7 separate regions of the Homo sapiens genome follow, and all the other regions are linked to region 5. The links are contacts of gene promoters, found by promoter capture Hi-C in blood cells and fetal thymus (Javierre and others, 2016). All regions are on one chromosome and are shown on one strand. Each heading gives the region's core, a stretch centred on a gene start or on the middle of the fragment in contact. The rest is flanking DNA. Distances are from core to core; before and after follow the strand shown.

Evidence for each region. Contacts are between HindIII fragments. The CHiCAGO score rates a contact against its expected background, and 5 or more counts as called.
Region 1: a fragment that was not itself captured here is called in contact with the fragment with the promoter of CDK17 in region 5 in 4 of 17 cell types (neutrophils, M2 macrophages, monocytes and 1 more); the score reaches 14.9 in neutrophils.
Region 2: a contact is called between a fragment that was not itself captured here and the fragment with the promoter of CDK17 in region 5, in 1 of 17 cell types (neutrophils). The highest score is 7.3, in neutrophils.
Region 3: a contact is called between a fragment that was not itself captured here and the fragment with the promoter of CDK17 in region 5, in 17 of 17 cell types (activated CD4 T cells, total CD4 T cells, total CD8 T cells and 14 more). The highest score is 41.0, in activated CD4 T cells.
Region 4: a contact is called between a fragment that was not itself captured here and the fragment with the promoter of CDK17 in region 5, in 3 of 17 cell types (activated CD4 T cells, non-activated CD4 T cells and total CD4 T cells). The highest score is 6.4, in activated CD4 T cells.
Region 6: a fragment that was not itself captured here is called in contact with the fragment with the promoter of CDK17 in region 5 in 8 of 17 cell types (fetal thymus, monocytes, naive CD8 T cells and 5 more); the score reaches 11.2 in fetal thymus.
Region 7: a fragment that was not itself captured here is called in contact with the fragment with the promoter of CDK17 in region 5 in 1 of 17 cell types (fetal thymus); the score reaches 6.3 in fetal thymus.

What each region holds. Positions count from the first base shown.
Region 1 is chr12:96,000,058-96,003,842 of GRCh38, forward strand. It overlaps LTA4H (leukotriene A4 hydrolase), which reads right to left. Exons shown (of 19, transcript NM_000895.3): 17 at 3,781-3,785; 18 at 2,903-3,007; 19 at 696-1,049. The coding sequence ends at 932. It overlaps LOC102723340 (a long non-coding RNA gene), which reads left to right. Exons shown (of 4, transcript XR_945237.4): 3 at 34-203. Among named protein-coding and RNA genes, the nearest start is that of HAL, 5.6 kb to the left of the region's middle. The HindIII fragment of the contact is 9,911 bases long and covers 1-3,785 here.
Region 2 is chr12:95,979,991-95,983,411 of GRCh38, forward strand. It overlaps HAL (histidine ammonia-lyase), which reads right to left. Exons shown (of 21, transcript NM_002108.4): 16 at 808-873; 17 at 566-731. Among named protein-coding and RNA genes, the nearest start is that of HAL, 15 kb to the right of the region's middle. RefSeq lists an enhancer at 2,480-2,649. The HindIII fragment of the contact is 1,883 bases long and covers 801-2,683 here.
Region 3 is chr12:96,054,434-96,058,149 of GRCh38, forward strand. No RefSeq gene overlaps it. Among named protein-coding and RNA genes, the nearest start is that of TRD-GTC2-8, 20 kb to the left of the region's middle. The HindIII fragment of the contact is 707 bases long and covers 1,679-2,385 here.
Region 4 is chr12:96,126,999-96,130,663 of GRCh38, forward strand. No RefSeq gene overlaps it. Among named protein-coding and RNA genes, the nearest start is that of LINC02452, 44 kb to the right of the region's middle. The HindIII fragment of the contact is 6,105 bases long and covers 1-3,665 here.
Region 5 is chr12:96,398,458-96,401,993 of GRCh38, forward strand. CDK17 (cyclin dependent kinase 17) reads right to left here and starts at 1,982. Exons shown (of 17, transcript NM_002595.5): 1 at 1,529-1,982. RefSeq lists silencers at 1,386-1,545, 1,726-1,905, 1,996-2,325 and an enhancer at 2,746-2,965. The HindIII fragment of the contact is 3,343 bases long and covers 27-3,369 here.
Region 6 is chr12:95,936,130-95,939,839 of GRCh38, forward strand. It overlaps CCDC38 (coiled-coil domain containing 38), which reads right to left. Exons shown (of 16, transcript NM_182496.3): 2 at 344-394. The coding sequence starts at 380. Among named protein-coding and RNA genes, the nearest start is that of CCDC38, 4.6 kb to the right of the region's middle. The HindIII fragment of the contact is 1,082 bases long and covers 917-1,998 here.
Region 7 is chr12:96,908,571-96,912,029 of GRCh38, forward strand. It overlaps NEDD1 (NEDD1 gamma-tubulin ring complex targeting factor), which reads left to right. Exons shown (of 16, transcript NM_152905.4): 3 at 1,182-1,325. The coding sequence starts at 1,190. Among named protein-coding and RNA genes, the nearest start is that of NEDD1, 3.0 kb to the left of the region's middle. The HindIII fragment of the contact is 441 bases long and covers 1,899-2,339 here.

The DNA.
Region 1 (3,785 bases), core at 703-3,202, 400 kb before region 5:
TTTGGTTCAAGTTATTTTGTTGTCTTTGAACAGACTGTGAGAGGGATGGGAAAGACTGGTGCTTGGGGTGGCCATCTGACCCCTGATGGACAGGAGACCAGGACAAGCCCACTGGATGAGCCGGAGGGGTCCAGGAGGAGGGAGTTGAGAGCTCCTGCTAGGGTTGACACATTCTGGTAAGGAGTTCATCTGCTGTCCACCAGGTAGGTGGTGTGCAAATACAACTAAGCATTCATGTTTAAGGTTTTTTTTTAATTTTTTATTTTTCGAGGCAGAGTCTCCATTGCCCAGGCTGGAGTGCAATGGCGCCATCTCGGCTCACTACAACCCCTGCCTCCCAGATTAAAGTGCTTATCCTCCCTCAGCCTCCTGAGTAGCTGGAATTACAGTCGTGCCTCCACGCCCAGCTAATTTTTGTATTTTTAGTAGAGACGGGGTTTCACCATGTTGGCCAGGCTGGTCTCAAACTCCTGACCTCAGGTGATTCACCCGCCTTGGCCTCCCAAAGTGCTGGGATTACAGGCATGAACCACTGCGCCCGGACTTATGTTTAAGGTTATTTAAAAAGCAAAGCAAAATCCTAACCATGTTGAATTTTTGAATCTGCAGCAGATTCAAATTAATGAATTTAAATCATATATCAGGTAAAATACTACCTTGACATATTTTGTGATCATACTGAGAGAAAATTAATATAAAGCTAATTCAAAATTTTTTAATTTGTAAATCAAAAGATTAAACCTTGTTAAAATTTACAAAGAATATGCCACTATAAGAAGAAGTAGCTCAACTTTATTTCAGTAAAATCACCAACAAAACAATAAAAAGCCAAAACTAAAAAGACAGTTTTAATTGTGAGCTGAAGTTTTATATTTCTTTACGAATTCCATTTAAAAAAGAGAAATCTCTAAAATCATCAATACGCAGGTCTTTAATCCACTTTTAAGTCTTTCCCCACCAGCATTGCAGTCACGGGATGCATGCTTGCTTTGTGCTCTTGGTAGGTTCGGACAGCTTGATCATGGGATTTGTCAAAGGCAGCAAGATCCCTGCCAAAAAAGAAAAAATTGAAAAGAAAGAAAGGCGAGAAGGAGACAGAGGAGGAGAAAGGGAGGGAGAGAAGAAAGAAAGGAGGGAAGGGGTTCAGAGGAAAGGAAAAAGGAAGGAGAAAGAGAATAAGAACACAAGTCAATACCCAAGATTAAATTAAAGGATGTCAGCAGGGGTGACAGCCAGCATCACCCAAATAAGGCACCAGTCCCAGCCAATCAGATGGGTATGGTCCTGCCACAGGGTCCCAGAGACCTCCTTCTGTACCAGAGACTGGCCTTTATACTGGCAGATCAGACATTTTGCAGCAAGTTACAGGGAAGGGCTAGAGTGGCTGGGACCCGTGGCTATTTACCAAGCAGCATGGAAGGATTTTATTATTTGAACAGAGTCCTCTCATCTCCTGGCTAAATATCAGCCCTGTATGTGAGAGTGAGCCTCAAAGCCTTTCTTTTTAAAAACTGCTTTTAAAAAAAATTTTTTAATCAAGATTTTAAGAGTATGAAAACACTAAAATTTATATAGAATTTCTGAAAACTTCAAATAATTGAGAATAAAAGTCCTGACCACAGTGAAATAATAAATACATAATAAATAATACACGAAATAAATAATAAATACACTAAATAAAAAGGACCTACCATACAAAAGGTAGGATTAGTCATTTTTAATGTAACTACTATAAACATCATAAAACAGAAATACTTATTTTTCCCACAAAAGGTATACTCTTATTTATTTTATTCATTTTTTTTTTTTGAGACAGAGTCTCGCACTGTCACCCGGGCTGGAGGAGCTGGAGAGCAATGGCGCAATCTCAGCTCACTGCAACCTCTGCCTCCCGGGTTCAAGCGATTCTCCTGCCTCAGCCTCCCAAGTAGCTAGGATTACAGGTGCCTACCACCACACCTGGCTAATTTTTTGTATTTTTAGTACAGACAGGGTTTCACTATGTTAGCCAGGCTGGTCTCAAACTCCTGACCTCGTGATCTGCCTGCCTTGGCCTCCCAAAGTGCTGGGATTACAGGCGTGAGCCACCGCGCCCGGCCCAAGTATACTCTTATTTAAAAACCTATTTAAAGTATACTTTACTCAATTCAAAGCTAGATGGGTTTTAATTAGGGAAAGCATATAAAATATACTTAAAACTTAATTTTGTGGTCACATCAAAAAAGAGATAATGACTTATTTTGCCAAGTTTTATGATATTATATGGCCATCACTTTTGATGGCCAAAACTGCAATTACTTTTGCACCCACCTAAATACTTGTGAAGTAAATGAAAAGCAAACAAAAGTAATCATGGATATTTATGGCATGATTTTTTTTTCCAGAATTTGGACAAAATTCATAAAGACCTTGACTGAGATATTCTTGTATCTTGCTGTCAAGATACAACTTATCCCCCTCTCACTAAGCATTCCTTTATTATGTCAAGCAACCTACCCTTGACCTCTATGCAACATTTGAACACAAAAGAGTTAGCTTTATCTGCTTATTTCTCCTTACATTTAACTTCAGACTCTCTTTCTTGTCTATACCTACCCACCAATTATCTTCTAGTTACCTTTAAAAATCTTTGTGTATATAAGGCTATCTTTGATTTATTTCTATTTTATCAGTATCTAACTCTATTTGATCCAAAATAGTAATCCATATATAATGCTTCTAAAAAGAGGAATGAAATTATTTCACATTTTAAATATTTATAAGTGTGAATCCCTATTCCAAAATTATACTGATAAACTTTAACAAATTAAAAAATATTGTCATATAGATTACGTTTAAATATTTGACAGTTTTCTTCCTGTTTCTTAGATGAATTCAAAGTACGGTCTGAGTGGGTTCTTACTTGAATAAGGGCCGGGTAAACTTCATTCTTCCTTGTTCAGTTGCCATCTTTAGCGCCAAAGGAATTGCGTCCTCCCACTTGGATTGAATGCAGAGCCGCAGCCATCTAAAAGGAGGATTTGGGGGGAGCATGGAGTAGAAAATGAGGAAGGGGCAGGATATGACAGGTATATCTTAATATTACTTCTGTAGTGATATGAATAACCCCACTATAGTTATACTGTACACCACTTTATGGTATGTCTTGATTCTGAGACTCTCAAATCCTTATATATACAATTTAATAATTGGTGAAGAGAAAGAAGAGGAGCTGGTTCTTGAAAAAGATCATATATTTTTAAAGGTCTGGATCAGGTAGGTGCTCACATACCTTATAAATCCAATTTCTGAAGGAATTAAACTTTGGTTTAAGCCTCACATTACAAATTTGAATTAAGAAAGATCAGGTAGGTGCTCACATACCTTATACATGCAATTTCTGAAGGAATTAAACTTTGGTTTAAGCCTCACATTACAAATTTGAATTAAGAAAGATTAACATATAATAGAATAAAATATTTCTAACTATTCCCATTTCAAAGTAGATTTAGTTGGTTGTGGAGAAAGCCTATTTACCACGGAATCCTTCATTCTAATTTTTTTTTTTTCTTTTAAGGCAAGAGAGGTTTAGAGCAAAGTCTAACAAAAAGATTAATACTACCAGATTACATATTGCAACTATTCCTTAAATACCACTATAAGTATTTATATAGAAGCAGTCAGTTTGACAAGGAATTCTCAAGACTCAAGTATGTCTCATACTCTGCATTCCCTTTCTCCATCTTTCAAAGGAGTTTAGTTTTCTGCTTTCTTCCACAGAGACAAGTTAAAATGATGTACCTGAA
Region 2 (3,421 bases), core at 492-2,991, 420 kb before region 5:
TTAATCTGTCTCTTACAATCTTGAGTCAGAAATAAACTATATTGAAGCTCAATCTTCACAGAGGGTATCCTGATTCTTATAAGCATTTTTTTAATGTTGCAATAACATCTTTATGTTTTTAGTGGTTGTTATATCTAGTGAAATGAATCCAAAGTTTAATTATAGGTTTAAAAGTTCAAAGTTTAATTATAGGTTGGTTCAAGTTTCACCATTAACTATAACCATCTTAGTCTTTTTCCAATAGTCTTCAAATGGAGATTTGGAAAAAAGCTATAGAGATGAAGTTCATATGCAATGTCAAATTGCTTTCCACAGAGAAATTGTCCATTACAGCCTTATTATTGTATTATTATATTTCAGCATAACAGTATCGAAGTTTTTAAACTATTTTTTTCTGAAAAATATTAGAGTTAACCTGTTACCTTTGCACTGAGAGAACTAGGATGCAGATAAAAGTGGTGAAAAGTTAGATCTCACTCACAGACCACATTTGATACTTCTAGGTGAAATGGAAAGACCCTTAGATGGACGGGCGTGTGTTCTGGGAAAGGGGCAGTGTCCTTACCAAGGGCTGCTGCCGTGCAGTGAGCTATCATGAACCCAGAGTTCAGACCACCTTCAGCCACCAGGAAGGCAGGCAGCTCACTGAGGGAGGGATTGCAGAGCCGCTCGATTCTTCTCTCACTGATTGCAGCAAGTTCATGGATGCCAATGGCCAAGTAGTCTAGGGCCTGAAAGAGGGTCTCCATTTAGTCAGCCTATATTGAAATGTGCCTTCTGGGTCAGGAGCAGTTTTAAAAAGCTTACTTTGGCTGGGTATTCACCATGGAAGTTTCCTCCAGAAACTGTCTCTCCCCTATTGGCAAAGACCATCTTTCAAAAGAGGTTAAGGCTTGAAGATAATGTTTGCTGGTCACTTCAAGTACAACCCCTTCCTGCCTTCTTTTTTAACGTGGAGGTGGCAGTCTGTGTACAAATGTGGGGTGGAGGGAAAGAGACAAGTCTTCCTGCAAGAGATATAAAGGGGCACAAAAGCAAAAAACAAAAAGCCTTAAAGGTGGATCATGTACACCCAATTTGGAGGCTGAAAAAACATGAACCTTGAAATGATGTTTTCTCTTGAGATTAGATTCTAAAGCACCATAACTGTACTAACCTGGTGGTTAGTACCTGCCCTCAAAAGGTTTATAGCCTGAAACTAAAAACAGAGACCAACACATCTGTTTGAAAGCAACTTCTGTTTCTTCAATGGGCACTGCAAATTTGTGTTCCATAGAAGAATCTGTTGAATGGGAAACTCTGCTGATGAGCAACTACCAAAATGTCTGGAACAATCAATTTTGAGAAAATTTTCAAATTCTTTACTCAGTAATCTGGTGTCAGCGTTCAACAGCAGATGGTGGCCAATATGTCCTCATGAATCCATTTTAAGTAGGTGGCAAGTTTAAATTTGCTGAATATTATTACTCTGAGGTAATTCTTTTTTTATTTTCTGTATCATTCTGTCACCCAGGCTGGAGTGCAGGGGCGCCATCTCGGCTCACTGCGACCTCTGCCTCCCGGGTTCAAGTGATTTCTTGTGCCTCAGCCTCCTGAGTAGCTGGGATTACAGGCATGCACCATCACACCCAGTTAAATTTTGTATTTTTAGTAGAGACAGGGTTTTGCCATGTTGGCCAGGCTGGTCTTGGACTCTTGGCCTCAAGTGATCAGCCCACCTTGGCCTCCCAAAGTGCTGGGATTACAGGTGTGAGCCACCAAACCCAGCCTCAGATAATTCTATTCCATCATGCACTTTACTTAAACCAGCAAGCACCCAGGAAAAGGCAGTAACAGATCCTTCTTCCTGGTTCTAAAGAGCTAATCTTTGCCTCTTGGGCTCAAGAATATTCATTACCTATTAACTGAGAACTTGCTGTGTGCAAGAAAGTTTCTAACTTTGAAAGAGTTAGAGATGTATGTGTTACATTAACCTACTCAAGTGTGGATTACTCTGTTCTGCATGTGTAACTGTGAGCCCATTGGGTCTAGCTCCTTGGTCTTGGCCTCTTCTCCATTCTCTGAATCCCTATAGCAATGGAATTCTGCATCAATTTAGAACTTAGACATGTTTTTATTGTCCTCTAGTTGTTCCAAATTTGTTTGTTGGCTATTAGATTAAAACAATTAGAATTTAACTCCCATAATATCCAGCATGTGTGATGGGGCTCCGTATCTGCAACAGAAAATTGAGACACATATTCTTTCAGGTAACAGCAGTATTGCAAGAGAACTCCCAAATATTAGCCTATTGGAAATTTATCAATAATTAGCAATCTTTAATTGAAAAAAATAAAAGACTTTTGGCTGAAATTCTTGCTGAGGCAATTGGTAGCAGAAGAATTTAGTGAGGAATTAATTATCCCCTGCCCCATATTCAGTAATTGAATGGTAATTTCTAAAAACTATGAGATACCCTTTAAAAGCAATGATGTAAATGTAGAATAGATACCTCTTCCCTACAGTGAAAAGACTGGTACGTGAGATAAGACTACATAGAGTTCATAAAAACTACTATTCCATCTGGGGGATGGGGTGGTATTGAGGTGAATGGAGAGACCCACAATTTCTGAGGCTTATTTAGTGTGGGTTTGACTTCAGTGTAAAACAATGTGAGAGAACATAAAACACACATTCTGAAGTAAGCTTGTCAAAAAACACATACATACAAAAGCCATCTCATGGGAAACCTTATGGAGCTATCACATAACCATCTTCTAACTCAGCCTGTGACCTGCTTTTGGGGCTGCTTACTCAGCACTTTCTCTAGGATTCAGAACTGAGGCAGATGTGGAATAGGAAAAATAGATTCCAAAGGCGTTTGATTATCTTCAGAGGCAGTGCTATCTCCATGAAAACTGTGCCAGTGTGACTCCTGACTGATCACCTCAACATCTGGGGAACTGAGCCATCATGGAACATTCCAGAGAAAAACCAGATGGCTCTGAGATAAGCCACACCATTAAGAGAGGACCTCCATCCTTGAGAAATGGAATCAGTTTTACTATTTCTTTGAACAAACGCAAAAGCACTAATTTGAGCAAAGTGCGCATGACAAATAAAAACTCATGATGGGGGCTGGGTGTAGTCGCTCACACCTGTAATCCCGGCACTTTGGGAGGCCGAGGCAGGTGGATCACTTGAGGTCAGGAGTTTGAGACCAGCCTGGCCAACACAGCAAAACCCTGTCTCTACTAAAAATACAAATATTAGCCAGGCCTGCTGGCACATGCCTGTAATTCCAGCTACTCAGGAGGCTGAGGCAGGAGAATCGCTTGAACCCGTGAGGCAGAGGTTGCAGAGAGCCGAGATGGCACCACTGCACTCCAGCCTAGGAGACAGAGTGAGACTCCGTCTAAAAATAAACAAAAAAAAAAATGCC
Region 3 (3,716 bases), core at 782-3,281, 340 kb before region 5:
CTGGGTGGGCTAAATTGAGCAACATTTTGCTATAATAAGTCTGCAAGATTAGACCTTAGGCAACAAAAGCCGGAAGGAGAAACTACATTTCCTATAAAATGTGGAACTGTGGGATAACAGTGTAACAACACTATGACTACAAACAGGGAAATTTATATATGAGAAGGAACTGGATTGTATGTTACCTATATAAATGATCATGAGAAAGTCATGTTGTTCTTTTGTTGTGATCTTTTAAACCAAATTTATAGTGCATTGAACCAAGTAATTGTAGGCCATTATTTTAAAGTAGGTTGTAGCACAGCATGAATTAATAATCACACCAATTTTATTTTACTTCATTGGATTTATTTAGCAATTGTTTTTAGCACTTCCTATATCCCAGGCCCTCTTCTACGCACTTTAAATGTATTAACACATTTCAATTAATCCTGGCAACAGCCTGAGAGGTAGGTACTATTACTATTCCCATTTTACAGATGGTGAACTGAAGCATGGTGCAATTAAGTAAGCAGCCAAGATTCAACCGGAATTCAAACCAAGCAATCAGGCTCCACAACCTGCCTTTTTAATCTGGCTCTCTGCCTTGTGCAAAAAGATGGTGAGTTAGTCCGTTCTCGCACTGCTATAAAGAAATATCTGCTGGGCGCGGTGGCTCACGCCTGTAATCCCAACACTTTGGGAGGCCGAGGCGGGTGGATCATGAGGTCAGGAATTCAAGGCCAGCCTGGCCAAGATGGTGAAACCCGTCTCTACTAAAAATACAAAAATTAGCCAGGTGTAGTGGCAGGCATCTGTAATCCTACCTACTTGGGAGGCTGAGGCAGAGAATTGCTTGAACCCGGGAGGCAGAGGTGGCAGTGAGCCGAGATTGCGCCACTGCACTCCAGCCTGGGTGACAGAGCAAGACTCCATCTCAAAAAAAAAAAAAAAGAAGAAGAAGCCAGGCACGGTGACTCATACCTGTAATCCCAGGACTTTGGGAGGCCGAGGCGTGTGGATCACGAGGTCAGGAGTTCAAGACCAGCCTGGCTTATGGTGAAACCCCATCTCTACTAAAAATACAAAAATTAGCTGGGTGTGGTGGCAGGCGCCTGTAATCCCAGCTACTCGGGAGGCTGAGGCAGAAGAATCACTTGAACCCAGGAGGCGGAGGTTGCAGTGAGCCGAGATCGCACCACTGTACTCCAGTCTGGGTGACAGAGCAAGACTCTATCTCAAAAAAAAAAAAAAAAAAAAAAAAAACCCTGAGAGTGGGTAATTTACAAAGAAAGGAGATTGGCCAGGCGCGGTGGCTCATGCCTGTAATTCCAGCACTTTGGGAGGCCGAGGCGGGTGGATCACGAGGTCAGGAGATGGAGACCATCCTGGCTAAAATGGTGAAACCCCGTCTCTACTAAAAAAAAATACAAAAAATTACCCGGGTGTGGTGGCGGTTGCGTGTAGTCCCAGCTACTCCGGAGGCTGAGGCAGGAAAATGGCATGAACCCGGGAGGCGGAGCTTGCAGTGAGCCAAGATTGCACCACTGCAGTCCGGCCTGGGCGAAAGAGCGGAAATCCGTCTCAAAAAAAAAAAAAAGAAAGAAAAGAAAAGAAAAGAAAGGAGGTTTAATTGGCTCATGGTTCTGCAGGCTTCACAGGAATCCTGGTGGCTTCTGCTTCTGGGGAGGCCTCAGGAAGCTTCCAATCACGGCGGAAGGCAAAGGGGGTGCGAGGTGTCTCACATAGTGGGAGCAAGAGCAAGAGAGAGCTAGAGAGGAGGTGATGTACACTTTTAAAAAACCTAATCTCACAAGCACTCACTCACTATCACGGGAACAGCACCAAAGGAACAGCACCAAGGCGATGATGCGAAACCATTCATGAGAAATCCGCCCCCATGATCCAATCACCTCCCCGCCAGGCCCCACCTCCAACACTGGGGACTACAATTCCACATGGATTTGATGGGAACACACACCCAAGCCATGTCTGATGGACACATAGTTTATTTTCTTTTGTGACTCTGCATAGGCCATTCTTGCCACTGGGACCCCTTCCCTCCCAATCCTCCTGGCTTTCCCTGCCTGTCAGCAAACTCCTGCTCCTTTTTCAAGCATCAACTCGGATTTACCCTCTGCTGTGATGTCTTCTGTGACTCACATGCAGATTTAGGCACCTGTTTATTGTGTTCTCAATATATCTTACCCATACTATAGAAATATTTGTTGTTTTTTATCTACCTAGTGTTAAATTAAATAAGCACGAGGCCATTGGCCAGAGGCCCTCTCCATATTTTGAGTTTCTGTGGAACAAACAGCAACCTAATAGTATGTAAACAAACTGAAACCTAATTTAGGAGTATATTTTTGTAACATATAGCCTGGTTTCAGCCAATCACAGAGAAGCTTCAGCCAATAATAAGCATCCAATTGATGAGACCACGCCCAATAAGGCAGATGCCTAGCTGTTGCCGATCAAGTGGTTTCTCTACATTGCTTTTGTGTTCACCCTAGAAAAGCTCATTGCTCACACTGCCAAGTGGAGTTTTCTGAACCTCTTCTGGTTCTGAGTGCTGCCTGATTCATGAATCATTCTTTGCCCAAATAAACTCTGTTAAATTTAATTTGTCTAAACTGTTTCTTTTAACACTAGCTTCTATTCCGCCTTCTCTGACAAGCGTTCAGGAACCCACCCCACCCCCACCCCGTACTTTGGGTGTAGCCCATGTGATTTAAGTCTAGCCAATCAGAGCACTAAGGAGCTACAGTTCAGAGGTGATCATGAGACCCAGGTTCATCGAACTAGAGTGAATCCTGGGACTGAGCATGAGCGGCTGGGAAGAAACACACAAGTTTTTGTTGCAAGTCTGGAGCTGCTAGCAGACTTCACATACTGCCTGAGCATGAAGCAAAAATAAAGAGAGTGAAAAGAATGAGAGAGAATGGGAAAGAGTCTGCTGGTGACATTATTTGATCCTCTGAATGATGCCTCACTTAAATTCAAGATATATTCTTGGATTTTGTGCATTAACAAATTCCCTTTTTGAGCTTAAGCCTGCTTGATTTATCTATCATTTGCAACCAAAGGAACATTAACCAATAAATACATTTCACTGTATATCTGTGTCTATATATCTATATGTATTTCATTTTACCAAGGTGTCTCCCTACTAACCATAATTCTTTGAGGGCAGTAGATGCTCAATATTTGTCAAATGAATTCAGCTGAAGGGTGTTTTGAAGGAGACTGACCTTAGAGGAGGGACATTTTAGGAAGGCTAATGGACTTAGTGTGAGATGTGATCAAGGGACTCAACCAAGTTGAAGAGTAGGATTGAAAGGGAAGGGACAAATACCAAAGAAAGATTTAACAAGGCAGTGATACAGAGTGGGGTGGAGCAATAGTTAGATTAAAGCCTGAGTGCTACCCTGTTCTGCGTATTTGTTTCTTTTGGTGTCTCTTTAGCAGCCAGCCTAAATTAAAAGTTTATTGTACTGGCTGATTATTGCCTGTCTAAATCACCCGTCTCTGTTAGTTTATCACAAGTGAAAAAATTAATGATAGAGAATCAGAGACTCACATATAAGCAAATAAGCATGATTATTATAAGAAAGAGCTTTTATTAAACAATACTTTCAGGTCTTCATAAGAATAGGGGTAGAATTTCAGAGACCCACATAACTCAGTGTGCAGTAAATGCTGCTCCTGGGCAACTTAATGGAGCATAAACTGCC
Region 4 (3,665 bases), core at 317-2,816, 270 kb before region 5:
CATGACCCTAAAACAACCGGTCAATTTAATAAACGAATAGATGAAAATCTATCAAATAAGTTGTTAGAAAATTACCTTGTATAAGGCCATACAGCAAAACAACTGAATTTTTCACTCATCAGCTAGTTAATTGGGCCTTGTGAAGACATAGGCAGAAAGAACGATAAAACTAGGGGCCCAGGAAGTTATGTCCAGTCTCCTGTCTGTGGTCAGGTCAATACTTCATGTATAAAAATACACGAAAGTTGCTAAAAAGCAAACTTGAGTAAAGGGAATTGAACCATCTTCCTCTGAAGTCTGTTCCAGGTTCCAATTAGGAATGCTTTCTTATTCATAACCATCCTTGTGCTGCAATCACAGCCTATTTCCTATAATTTGCTCCTCCATGGAGATGGAAAACAGCTGGCCATTTTTCTCTTTGTGATAATCTTTCTCATGCTCAAATCAAGGCACACTTAATCTTCTCTTTTCCACGTTGAATAACTCAAACTCTTTTATCTGTTTTCAGAAGATCTTTTTATTTTCCAGCGATTGTTCTGGCTTTTCTGTGGATTTCTCCATGTCTCTTCTTAAAATGCAGGGCCTTACACTGAAGACTTTAAAACGGCCTCGTTGGGTCTGAGGAATACTGAAAGATTCATTCTCAACCTTTGTCTCTCATTATCTAGACCACGGGCCATGTTTATGTTTTAGTCTCTGGTGGCCATCAGGTCATTCCTATGACCCTAACGTCTCAACCAGTTTTTCCCCAATAAGAATTTCATTCTGCTCTTGGAAAACCACTTCTCTTGTTTGTCGAGGTAACTTAGGACATGATTTCCTACCTCCAGTTTACTAACAAGTCATCCCAACTTGGTGTCCTCTGCGACCAATAAACATATTCTGAATGAATTACTCCAGCCTCAGACAGGGATTGTTAACACCCCTAAGCTAACATCTGAATCAACAACGAATATTTCTCCTTACCTATTGCTTCAGATCATGAACAACTCCACATATGCAGTTGGGTCCACTTGGCTTATTGACAGATACTGTGGGAATGTATTAGTCTGTTTTCATGCTGCTGATAAAGACATACCTGAGACTGGGTAATTTATAAAGAAAAAGAGGTTTAATGGACTCACAGTTCCACGTGGCTGGGGAGGTGTCACAATCATGGCCGAAGGCAAAAGGCACGTCTTTTTTTTGAAACGGAGTCTCGCTTTGTTGCATAGTCTGGATTGGCTCACAGCAACCTCTGCCTCCCAGGTTGAAGCGATTCTCCTGCCTCAGCCTCCCGAGTAGCTGGGATTACAGGCATGCGCCACCACACCTGGCTAATTTTTGTATTTTTAATAGCGACACAGTTTCACCATATTAGCCATGCTGGTTACGAACTCCTAACCTCAGGCAATCAGCCTGCCTCGGCCTCCCAAAGTGTTAGGATTACAGGCCTGAGCCACCGCACCCAGCCAAAAGGCATGTCTTAACATGGCAGCAGACAAGAGAGAATGAGAGCCCCAAGGGAAAAGGGAAACCCCTTATACAATAATCAGATCTCATGAGACTTATTCACTACCATGAGAACAGAATGGGGGAAACCACCCCCATGATTCAATTATCTCGCACTGGGTCCCTCCCACAACACGTGGGAATTATGGGAGCTACAATTCAAGATGAGATTTGGGTGGGGACACAGACAAACCATATCAGGGAAGAACAACAAAAACTCTGCTTTGGGCCAAACCAGGGTTTCTTAGCTCTGACACTATTGAAATTTAGAGCCAGATAATTCTTTATTGTAGAAGGCGGTCCCGCACATTGTAGGATGTTTAGCAGCATCTGTGGACTTTATCCACTAGATGCCAGTAGCAACTACCCCCAAGTTGTCACAAAAATGTCTCTAGACATTGCCATATGTCCCCTGGGGGAGAAAATCACCCCCAGTTGAGAACAACCATCCCAGATGCATGATTTCCCTCTGATCTTGTCTCTCCAGACAGAAATTAAATTGGTTCAAGAAAATTTGCTCATCACAGAGCTTCATTCTTCACTACCCAGCATCCCAGGAACTGTTGGACTTGGCATGTATAATACTGAGGAGCCCTGTCTGTGCTGTGCAGCTTCATCCTTTGAGATCAGCCTTATTGCCCCCATTTGATAGGCAGAGAGTGGATGAGCTATGAATTCAGCACCACATAGCTACCAAAGGGCATATATGAACCTAGGTCAGCTAGGATCTCAAGCCTGTGCTCTCTCCATCATCAAATGCAGCCTTTTCTCTAGATGCACAGTAGATTTGTAATTACTTGAGTCATCCTTTCCCCATTGATGAGATGGAGATTTCACCTTGTAAGAACTCTGCAGTCTTCTTTAAATAAAATCTAACTCTGGTCCTCTGAGGTGACCAAGAGGGAAACCCCCAGTGGAGAATCCCCTGACAAGGTCCACCTTGAAAAATCTGCATTTATCAGGTGATGGATACGCTAAAAGCCCTGACTTGACCACTACACAATCTATGCATGTAAATAATATTGCACATGCAACCCATAAATTTGTACAAATAGAAAAGAAAGAAAAATCCTGGTTCGTGTTATTAATGCAGATGGTAGTTCCCTTGTGCAGCTTTAAAAAACTGTTCCTTGTTTTCCACCAGCCTTCAGAGCTTCACCCTGCTGGGCGGACTCACCATCTTCCTGTCTAGTCCCACACGGCTCTTTTGAGCTGAGTGCAGGGGCTGTTAGAATGTTCTTTACCAGTTCCCACCATTGTCAGTGTCAGTGGCTTAGAGCTGCTTAAGGCTTTGCCATTCCCAAAGCACTTTCCCATGTGCTGTCACATTTGATTCCTGTTACACCTGCAAGAGAGCCTGGCTGGTGGATTATGGAGGTGAAGAAAACCAACGTGTAGGCCAGGCATGGTGGTGCACGACTATAATCCCAGCACTCGGGGAGGCCGAGGCAGGAGGATCGCTTGAGCCCAGGAGTTTGAGGCTGCAGCATGCCACCGCACTCCAGCCTGGGTAGCAAAGCAAGACCGTCTCAAAAAACAGACAAACAACAACAACAACAACAAAAAGGTATCGGGAGGCTGTAGATCACTCAGTTGGTAAATAGTGGAGAAAGGCCTGTAAGTAGTGGTAAGCCTACTGGCCTCACCTCCAGAGCTTCATCAAGAGGGATTTCTGCTCTGTTCAGATGGTCCTGGACTTCTTTTCATAAAATGTCTGTGCTTTTGTGTCAACATTTTCTGGAGAAAGCTGGCTCCCGAGGTCCTCTCTTTTGATCTTACAAACTGAAGACTGGCTTTTTTTCCTTTTTGTCTCACAAACTTTTTGCTAATACCATCATTTTCTTCTTTCAATGATCCCTATCCATAAAGATAAGTTGATTTCTGTCTACAGGCACTCCCAGGTCTAAGGAAACCTGTTTCAGCTGCGCTTTTCCCACGCAAATGATCTCTCCTGCAGGCACCGTGAGACTCTCCGTTCTCTGGTTCCCCTGCTGGCCACAGCCACTGGGATATCTTTTCCCTTCTTTCTTGAGGTGCCTGTCGGGCCCCACCCTAGCTCAGTGCCAGCTCCTCCTGGAGTCCCCGAAGCCTCTGCTCACCCACCCAATCTCACCCCTGCCTAACTCACTGGACCGCAGTGGGATTTGGAAGAAACATTCAATGTGAGCGACACC
Region 5 (3,536 bases), core at 732-3,231:
TTCGTCTTATTTCTAGTTTCAAGGCAAGCTTTGTCTACCCAAGGTATCAAAGGTCTTCAAATCTCATTCATTTTCTTCTGCCCAAGAGTTAAGAAAGTAAGTCTAAAACAGAACAAGCCAGATTTGTTGCTGTGATCTTCTCACACGAACGCCTTTTAAAAGAAATCTTTCAACAAAGACTCAAAAAAGAAACAGCAAAGTTTGGGGAAAGAATTGTCTGTCTTTAGGTCAAGCATTTCCTGATAAGTGACTGAAGGTCTGGCTGCCAGGAATACACTTTGCTGACCCTAGGAATGGCCAAGTCTCAAAACAAAATTTGCCTCTTCTGTATCTTGAAAGTGACCTGTTAGGACCTGATGTCAATTTGACGAAGAGGTGATAGAACATGACCAACGAGGTGTCTTTGGTGGACATATTCATGTAAAGGAGGCGAGAGCCACAGATTTCAGCTAAACGCTTTTTGCCACTTTTGCAAAAGAAAAGCTAATTGTTAACGGCCATGTGACATTATAGATCCCAGAAAAGGAAAGGGTGGGAGGAAGAGAGAGAAGTTCAAGGCAGTTCAGGGTCAGAACAAGCTCAGACATCCTGTCATTAACAAATGTTCCCCAAGCTGAAAGCAAAATACTGCTTACCCGAAAAGGAGTGGGTGAAAAGTAGGGGGAGAACGAGGGAAAAACCACAGGAGAGTCAATGTGGCAGTGTGGGGGTGACAGGAGGGAGGGAATCTGGAGCTATCCAGCTGAGTTGGGGAGCAAAAGCATCGGGCATAGCATCGGGCACAAAAATGCTGAGAAAAGCAACTGCGACGGAGACAGCACTAGGCACCCTCCTCCCCCCATTTTCCCCTCCCCATCGGTTTGCTGGGTTTCCCACCTTCCCTCTACCTCCGCTCTTGACCAACACTCCGGGGTGTGACCCGCCAGCAGGAGGCTGCCCTGATCTTTGTCTCTACCCGCTCCCACGCGCGGGCTCCTCCTCCTCCTCCGCGCTCCCCACCCGCGCACAGCGCCAGCGTCTCCAAGGAGCTGCAGGCGCCGCGACCGCCGCCTCCTCGCCCACCTCCCGCGGACCCGCGCCCCTTCCTTCCCCTCCCGGGCAGCGTCGCCTGCGCCTCCAGCTCCACCCCCGCCGAGGGGACCTTTGTGTCTCGGGGGACTTTCTGCCTCTTTCCCCTCCTCCGCCTCGCGAGGAGACCGGCCTCCCCCGCAGACCAAAGCGGCAGCGAGCACCGGAGGCGGCGGCGTCTATATCTGTCGGCGCCTCCTGGGAAGCAGCTCGCAGACACTCACACCCCACCCGAGCCCCGGAAATCCCCGGGCGACCCAAGGTCCTCGCTGGACCGGAGAGGTGACAGGCGCACGCTAGCCCCCCGCGCCGCGCCTCCTCGCTCAACTTCCCGACCGGGCCTGAGCCACCCGCGCCCCCAGTAGCCCCCGCCCCCGCCTCTGTCCCACGCAGCCTCCCGGCCCCGCGGCCGACCCGACACCAGGGGAAAGCGCGGCGCGGACGCCAGCCGCCAACTCACCAGCAAGAGCGGGGACCGCGGGTCCCGAGGCGAGGCGAAGAGAGGCGCGGGGGGAAGCTGCTCCGCGGACGCCCGCGGCGACCGGATGCAAGTCCGGGTCTCAGCGGCCGGCAGACGTGAGGCGCTTCCGAGCGCAGGCCTCCGCCGCCACAGCCGCCTTCCGGCTCTCGCCGCGGGTCCGGAGCCTCGGGAGGGGCCGCGGGTGTCTCACGCGTTGCCAAGTCCCTCGGTCAACATGGCTCCCGCGCCGACGAGCCGCGCGGACGGCCCACTAATCCCCTCGGAGCAGCCGGGCGCGAGCGCGGCGGGCGCCGACGGCGGGCTGAGACTGTCTGGCCGGGCGCTGGCTCCTTCTCCGCGGCTCTGCGGCGGCCCGCGGGGAGCTCAGGAGACTGCGGGCGGCCGCGTTCGCTCCTTGCGTGTGCGTCGCTTTCACACTCGGCGGCTGCGGATTGACGCCTCCGCCTGTTCCCCGGAGGAGAGCGAGTGCAAGAGAAAAAACACTTTTATTGAAACGATCCAACCAGCGGCGGCGGAGAAAAGCGACCGGCCGCGGGAGCTTACCCCACCCCCGCCTGAGCGGCTCGCCGGGGGCAGCGCGACCCCTGCCGGCGGCGGCGGAGGCGGGGGCGGGGCCGGCGGCCGGGGGCGGGGCCTGCAGGGCGGGGCGGGTGTCCCCGGGAAACTGCCCGCTCCGAAATGCGGGCGTCGGGGGAGCGGCGGAGGGGGCCAGGGGACCCCACCGGAATGAGTGCCTGTCCGCAGCGACTGGGGGAGAAATTATGTGAATAATTCAGCCCCTCCAACATCCCCCTGCCCCTCAACTTCCCGCTACCAAACCAAAACTCGTGCTTCAGTTATACAAGTAATTACTGTACAAGGTGTCCATGCCACAGTTCTCCACTGACTTTCTAGAGAGTCCATGTCAAAGGACCCACACTGAAAGATGTTGATGGCTGCAACTTTTCTCCTTTGTTGTGTGTGGGTACGTGGGTACTAGTGCCGCAGTCTCTCACACACACGGCATCTATTCATTTAAACTACAGTACAGTGTTTTGTATATATTATCATGTGCCCGGCAATATGCTGAGTCCTCTAAGGACGGAGAGTCTAGCTGGGATGAAAGATGATCAATAACTATCATAAAAATCTGAACGTTATGAGCGGAGAAATACAAGGTGCTATGAAAACAGAAAGGACTACTGTTGCACGGGTTAGGTTTTGTTTTCTTGGGGGAGGCGGGCCGCGAGAGGTTGGCCCAGTTTCTGCAACTGTTTTTACTTTCTCCTTTCCCAGAGGCTAAAAGCTAGTTCAGGAATGAACAGCAGAGTGGCAGTGAAGACAAACTAAAGTAATACTGACCCACTTTTTTCCACTAATAAGGATAAAAGCATAAAGTTAAAACAAACTTAAACCCCTAGAGGGAGATAATGAGAGGATTGAAAGAAGAGAGTAGGGACCGGATGTAGACAACATAAACAAGAAAAAAAAACCCACATAAAAGTCCTGTGAAGTGAGATAAATTTTTTTTCCCATGTTAACACCCGGAAGTAGAAGCTGCTTTGAAGTTTCAAATCACATTATGTGCTAAGAACTTCGGGGAATTATCTTTTTGGATTTAGGGATGAATCCTTTCCCCCTTAAAAATGCTGCATGCTGACATCTTTCTCTTATTTTGTTTGGCAAAGTTAAATGCATCTACAGTTATATCCAACGATCGTACGTGTCAATCAGGCTTTTCCCATGCCTCTAAAATTACCAGGACCCGTAAATTAGCAACAATTATGCTCTACGCGTATTTAACACTTGTTTACCAACCAAGAATGCAAATATACATAACAAGCTTTCCGTTAGAACAAGTGCGCTTTGTTTAAAAGCACTGTTAATGAGGCTTTTTAGATTTGTCCAAGTCAAACTTGGAACTTTATAATATAGCAAGATGTAGCATCATTTTCAGAGTTCTTTTTAAGTTAAAGAGAAACACTGATATTTATACAAGGCCTATTTA
Region 6 (3,710 bases), core at 208-2,707, 460 kb before region 5:
CAGAAGGATAAGATGAGAAAGGGTGGGAAAGGAAAGAAGAGGGCAGATTTTCATAAAGTTTAGTTAGGTATGTCCTTGACTATGACAAATAATTGAGTTACTTGTTTTCTGTCATGAGAGACTGGGGCAATCTGGCTAAATATGACAATTTAATGCACCCTCTGATTTGAAGATTTTTTTTTTGAATTAAAAAGTAGAACAGAATCTTCTCTGCAGGTAGTTTATAAACTCATTACATTTTATATTTATGGTGTAACATTCTCCTTTTCTTATGCTCACAATCTGTTATGGAGCCTAACACTGCCAGGCCCAAACAAGAATATATTGATTGATTTCTTTTTACCTCCAGAATTCAGTGTTGGCAATAAATTTGAGGACATTTTCTTGCCTGGCCCTGTTGAAAGAAAAAAAAATACGTTTTTTAAAAATTCTATGAACATCATATAAAAGGGCTAAATTCAACTGCCAATGACTCCTTAACAGTCCTTATGGCTTTTAAAAGCAGTGAGCACACACATACTCTTTGACCCAGCAATTTCAATTCTGGTATCTTATGTCAAGAAAATAATCAGACAAGCAGCCAAAAAAGCATGTGCAATAATGTTTGTTCAATGTCATTTCATAAATACAGAGTTGACCAAATAACTATGGTATATCCATAAAATAAATTCCAGTTGGCCCTTAAAATGATGCTGTAGTCACTATTTACCTCTCTCCATGGTATTGGTTAAAAAACAAAACATTTCAAAAGAGTAGGGATAGTGTGGATTAAAAAATGCATGCAAAAATCTGAGAGGTGTTTGAAATGCCATTCATCAAACATGAATCTTGATTACATGTGATTTGGTGCAGTCTCTCATTTTTACCAGGTTTGGGATTAGGGTTAGGTGATTGAGGCACTCAATCTTAGCTGCAAAGCTTAAGGATTGCCAAAATAAACAAACAAAAACAAAACAAAAAAATCAACTTTCAGTTATTATGATAAATTAAATGTTAATGCAATATATTTTTATAAAATTCCAAATAAATGCAGGAAATTCTATAATGAACAAAATATCAAAATTGTAAATACGGACAGTCTCTGACCCTGTACTTGTGTGACCCTGAGAGCCAGTGCCTCACTCTACTCACCCAAATCCTGGCCCACAGAACTTGTCTCTATTTAAAATTCTGTTATTTCATTTATCATGAATTTTTTACATTAATTTATATATTTAAAATAGTGAATTAAAATATTGCTTATTTTGATTACTGAGTTTTTGCTTTCCCCTTAAATTTTATGCATGAAGCTAGAGCTTCACTGGCCTTACCCTAATCCTTGTTCTGATTTCTATACTTTGAGTATCATTCAAATTTCTCAGTGAGCTGGTGTAACTGTTACAATGAGAAAAATAATAAAGATATATTCATTTTGGGGATAAAGGACACCCAGGAGTTTATATTTAAAAATGTGCCCGCAGCAGAAACAATGGACAACACATTCTATTTTGGGCTACTCATTTAAATATGTGCCTCAGGAATCTCAAAGAGCCATATATAAGAGCTAAATATCCCGGAAGCAGAGCAGCAGATGATTAAGAACACAGACTTTGGACAAGCCTGATTTTTGAATCTTGGTTTGGTATTTACTTATGTGTGAGCAAGTTCATGTATCATTCAAAAAACATTTATTGAGTACCTACTATGTGTCAGGCACTGTTCTACGTGTGGGGGACAGGGCAATTTTTAAAAAGACAAAAAAGAACAAAAACTATTGTCTTCATGGAGCCTACATCTTAATTACTCAGCATCTCTGAGCCTCTGCTTCCTGTTTCATAAAGTGGACACACCTCTTAAGGCTTTCTTGAGGATTCAGTGGGCAATGGATTTAACCAAGTGGGGTGCCTGGCTTACAGACCAGCTCAGTAAGTGGGAACTATTATGTGCTAATATTTACTAATTAGCATCTGATTTTAGTTCCAGTGGTTATAAAAACAAATATTTAAAAAATTATGTCAAAGCTTATAAAAGAGAAAAAAATGAATAAAAACTATAACATTGACATTATACTTTTTCAAATGACTGAACATTTTTTCACAGGCATTAAATTCATTCTCACGGGGGAAAAGAAAGATCGGTGAAAAATTGGTGACAACCTGTGGTTGATGAGTATTTGGAATTTGGATGGCTAATACTAAAGATTTGTAGATTTTCTCAATTTTACACTCTGTACTCATCTCCACTCTTAGGATTCTGATCACCTCTTTCTTGTCACATTTTCACTCCTTTGGTCCTTCTATCTATCTAAATTCACTCTCCTTCCCACTCTCATTCCCTTTATCCTTAAAGTCTTTTTGCAATGAGCATCTTTATCCATGGGTTCAAGGACTTTTTCACTCACAGAAAAACTGGAAGTTCTGTTCCTTTAAACCAATTGCTAAGAGCAGATATCTGCTCTTATTCTGTCTCTATTATATAGTTCATATAACATGTAAATGCAATCAGCAGTCTCCAGATGTTGTTATACTTCTATACTTCCATATGCATGAATTCCTGTATTGATGAATGAAAGGTTGGTGAACAAAAGGGAGGGAGAGGAACAGAACCAGTTATTGTTAGGAAGGGATTATAAAGTCCCCTTTCCAATCAGAAAAAATGTTGAAGTCAGTGGATGTCTTTGTTGTGCGAAATAAAAATAGCATGATGGCTAAACAAAGGCTCTGTACCAAAAGAGAGGGAAAATGTTATTGGATTGCATAGCAAATGCCTGAAAGTTCACATCTTAAATACACGTTCACATCCAACTTCCAATAGATGAAAAAGATCAAAAGCTCAGAAATATCAGGAATGTAAAATGGTGGTGTATAACTGCCAGCCATCCATTTTAGAGGTCGCATAAGCTAAATGATTAAGAACATAGACTCTCTCTATGTCCCTTAATCCTCACACTTCAATTTCCCCATCTTTCAAGAGGAATGATGCAAATAGTATCTACCTTGTGGGATTGTTAGGTAAGTTACCACGTCCAGCCTTTGGATGGCCTCAGTTGCATAGTATGTGCTATGGGAGTGTAAGCACATGGAGAGGTGCACTCTGAGGGAGGAATGTGCCTGGTGTGTTTCAGGAACAGTAAGGACACCAGTGGGCCTTAAACACAGTGAACAAAGGGGACAGCACCCCAGATGAAGCCAGAGAGACAAGAAGTCCAAGATCACGAGGGCCCTGGAGGCCATTTTCTCAGTGAAATGGAACCATTCAATGAATCACTCTGATGCTGAGCTGAGAAGAGACTGTAGAAAGGGAAAAGGGTCACACAGGGAGATCTACTAGGAGACTACAGCCACTGGGAGGCAAGAGATAATGCTATCCCTTCCTTGGGATAGCAGTGGAAGTGGTGAGAGGTGGTCCGATTCTAGATGTGTTTTGACAGTAGAGTCTACAGGATTGGCTGATGGTTTGGATGTGGAGTATGAGATAAAGAACTGATTGCAGAAAGGATGGAGTTGCCATAAATGGAGACAGAGAAGGCAGTGGGGGAAGGGGCACTTGGGAAGATCAGAGGCTCATTTTGGAACATGTGAAATTTGAGATATATATTAGATATCTAAAGGGACATGGGTGTAATGTATACTGTTCTTTCAAGTGAACCCCATGCTGGTTGATTTAATTAATTGTTGTGTTCCTTTAATAGCTGTACAATTATATGTGGTCTCTGAGTCAGGTCTCTTGAC
Region 7 (3,459 bases), core at 869-3,368, 510 kb after region 5:
TCCTTGGTTTGTGAAATCACCTTGTTAGAATTACGTGTTTCAGCTGTATGCTCTGAATAAATGATTGAAGGCATCGTAGTCCAAGTATTGGTATAGGGACTTAGTGGCGTCTCATTTGACCATATTGCTAATTTTAGAGTTTTGGAAAAACTGGTGTGACTGGATTCTGACCTGCAGAAATGCTAGTTTATCATACTTTTTTTAAAAATTAGGAAGTTACTTATTAGTAGTTATTTGTTGTGAAACTGCTGTGTGCCAGGAATGTTTCAAGACTCTGGTGTGGGGAGACAGACATTATAAGAACAAATAAAAATTTCAGATAGTGGCTGGGCACGGTGGCTCACGCCTGTGGTCCCAACACTTTGGGAGGCTGAGGCGGGCAGATCACCTGAGGTCAGGAGTTCGAGACCAGCCTGACCAACATGGAGAAACCCCGTCTCTACTAAAAATACAAAATTAGCCGGGTGTGGTGGTGCATGCCGGTAATCCCAGCTACTCGGGAGGCTGAGGCAGGAGAATCACTTGAACCTGGAAGGCGGAGGTTGTGGTGAGCCGAGATCACACCATTGCACTCCAGCCTGGACAACAAGAGTGAAACTCCGTCTCAAAAAAAAAAAAAAAAAATTCAGATATTAGGAAGTGCTATGAAAAAAATGAAATCAGGTATTGGGATATAGGGTAAACTGCTAAGTCCCTTACCAGGTAAGGAAGGGACTGCGTTAGCCAGGGTGGTCAGGAAAGGCCTTTCATAGGAGGAAACATTTGAGCTAAGACCTGAATGATGAGAAGGAGATGACCATGGGAATCTGGGGAGAACATCTTAGGCACAGGGAGCAGCAAATGAAAAGACACTGAGGTGAGAATGACTTTGCCTTTGCATGAGGCAGAGAGAAGGCCAGTGAAAAGAAAGAGGAGAGTTACATGGGGGCCAGGACATGTAAGGCAGGCTAAGGAGGCTGGATTTCATTATCATTACTGTGAGGAGCCATTGGAAGGGTCAGCTAAGAGAATGCGACCTGGCTTATGTTTTAGGAAAATCACTTCAACTGCTTTGGTGACTGCACTGTTTGGAACAAAAATGAATGAGTTAGAGCCACTTGTTTTAGATTAGATTTTGACCTTTTTTTGAGTATGTCTATTCTTAAATGTTTTTAAAATACATTGTTTTAAACTATTTGTAGGCGCAGTCATGCAGGAAAACCTCAGATTTGCTTCATCAGGAGATGATATTAAAATATGGGATGCTTCATCTATGACATTGGTGGATAAATTCAACCCACACACATCACCACATGGAATCAGCTCAATATGTTGGAGCAGCAATAGTATCCTTTAAAAAAAAAAAACACACACACACACACACAAACCGCTTATTAGGTTAAACAACCACTGTCAATGAAACTTTTGCATGTGCCTCATACTGAGTAATGTGTTTTGCATTGCTACCAAGGATAGATAACGTAAAATAGTAATTTACAAAACAATATATCATATGAATGCACTCTGATTTTATCTGTTGCGTTCATTTAAAAAAAATTTAGTTACAACCCACTTCATTTGAAAACACTGCTATTAAAAAAAGTATATTCTGTCTACACCATAGAATTAGTTATCAAAAATTTCTTATTGAACCAAATGGAATAAGGTTGGTAGTTGTGGAAATAATTCCAAAAGGTTTTGGAATGAGTTTTTGCATCTACATTTGGGTATTTGTGGATCTGAACTGAAAATTAAAGACAGAACTTGAAGGCAGAAGCAAGTTGGGGAGGAGATAAAAAATTGCCCAATATCTCCATCTTACTAATGTACTCTCCATATCTTCCTTCCTCTCTGTGTGTGTGATGAAAATTACATTTCCTAAACAGACATAGTAAAGTTACCTAGATTGAACTTTTCTAAGCTTTTTATGTTTCTGATTGACACCTTCCCTGTCTTGGTGAGCTCCTCAATGTGGATAAAATAAAATGAGGGAGTGAAGACTGTAAACTAGGGTTTCTGAACCCTGTGCTATTGACTTTTTGGGGCAGAAAATTTGTTGTGGACCTTTCCTGTATGTTGTACCACGTGGAGGTTTATTGGTCTTCACCCGTTAGGTACCAATAGCCTCTAGTTGTGACAACCCAAAACGTTTCCAGAATTGCCTGAATCACTCCCAGTAGAGAACCACTGCTGTGACCACAGTGCTCCTATCACCTTTTATGTGAAAATGTTTTATGTAATTGGTATGTTAGAAATTTTCTTTTGTGAAACTCATACGCTATTTCTTAACAAATTAAGATTTAACATTTATCTGATTTTTATCAACACCAAAGTATTCTACTTTCTGATAAAAAAATCAAAGCTTTAAAATGTGACTGGTTCAGGAACAAAAATATTAAAAGTTTTATATGACTTACTATTCTTGCATGTATATAACAAGAAGGACAAATTTTCTTACTGAATTAAATTTACCTCCTTATCATTCCTTGATTTTGCAGTAAAACAAATTACTTTGGTACTCTGTTAATCAAACTCATGGTGAAGTGACTACATTTTTGAAGGACTTTCCAGATGTGTAATAGGGAAAATATTTTAAAGAGAGCGACAAGTATATGAAGTTGCTGTTCTCTATTTTTAGATTTTCATTATGTTTAGAGCTTAATTTTCCCTCTTACTATATAAGAGAAAGGTAGCAATTTGTAGTAAGATTATTTTTTGGTTGACTTTTGTTTTAAGTTTTACTAGGAGTTGGCATTTACTGATGTGCTACTTAATAGTCTAACAACAAAACTGATGTAGCTATGAGATAGTGTTGTATGACTTTTGGAAATTGGTCTTACAGTTTTCTTGCATGAGCAGATGTGCACTGAAAGCCTTCATACAGTCTTATTCTTAATAAGGCTTTGATCACTTCCATGGAGGTTAATTACTGAAGAACAAGGAGTTCCCAGCCTTAGCAACTTGGGGTCCACATAGTATAGATTCCAAGAATGGGGTTAATGTGAGACACCAGAGAGATTAGTTTTTTGTTTCTTGTCCTTTAACTTACGTTCCTCACTTTCTCATGATTTCTAAAACTACAAGAGAAATAAAAAAGAACTAGATTACCCACCCACATTATGTTTCAGTCCTTTTTTTTCTATATTCTAAGGAGAAAAGTAGTGGTAAACAGGAAGAAGTCAAGGAAAGGGAAATGGTTTTTCTCGCTATGGTAATATCTAGGTAGGAATGATTTGATTTGCATCATGTATCATAATAAAATTACAGTCTATGCTCTGTTTACAAAATACCTGAAAGTTATACAGAACATTCAAAAGTTAATGCAGTTAGGGATTCTGAGTGTCTAATTAACCTTTCTCCATTGCTTTTACTCACAGATTTTAATTGCTAAAAAGCACAGATTTAAACTTCTGATATTTTAATTTGTTATGGCTCTCAAAATCAGACTCTTATTCTTAGTTATATTATTGTATTTAATCA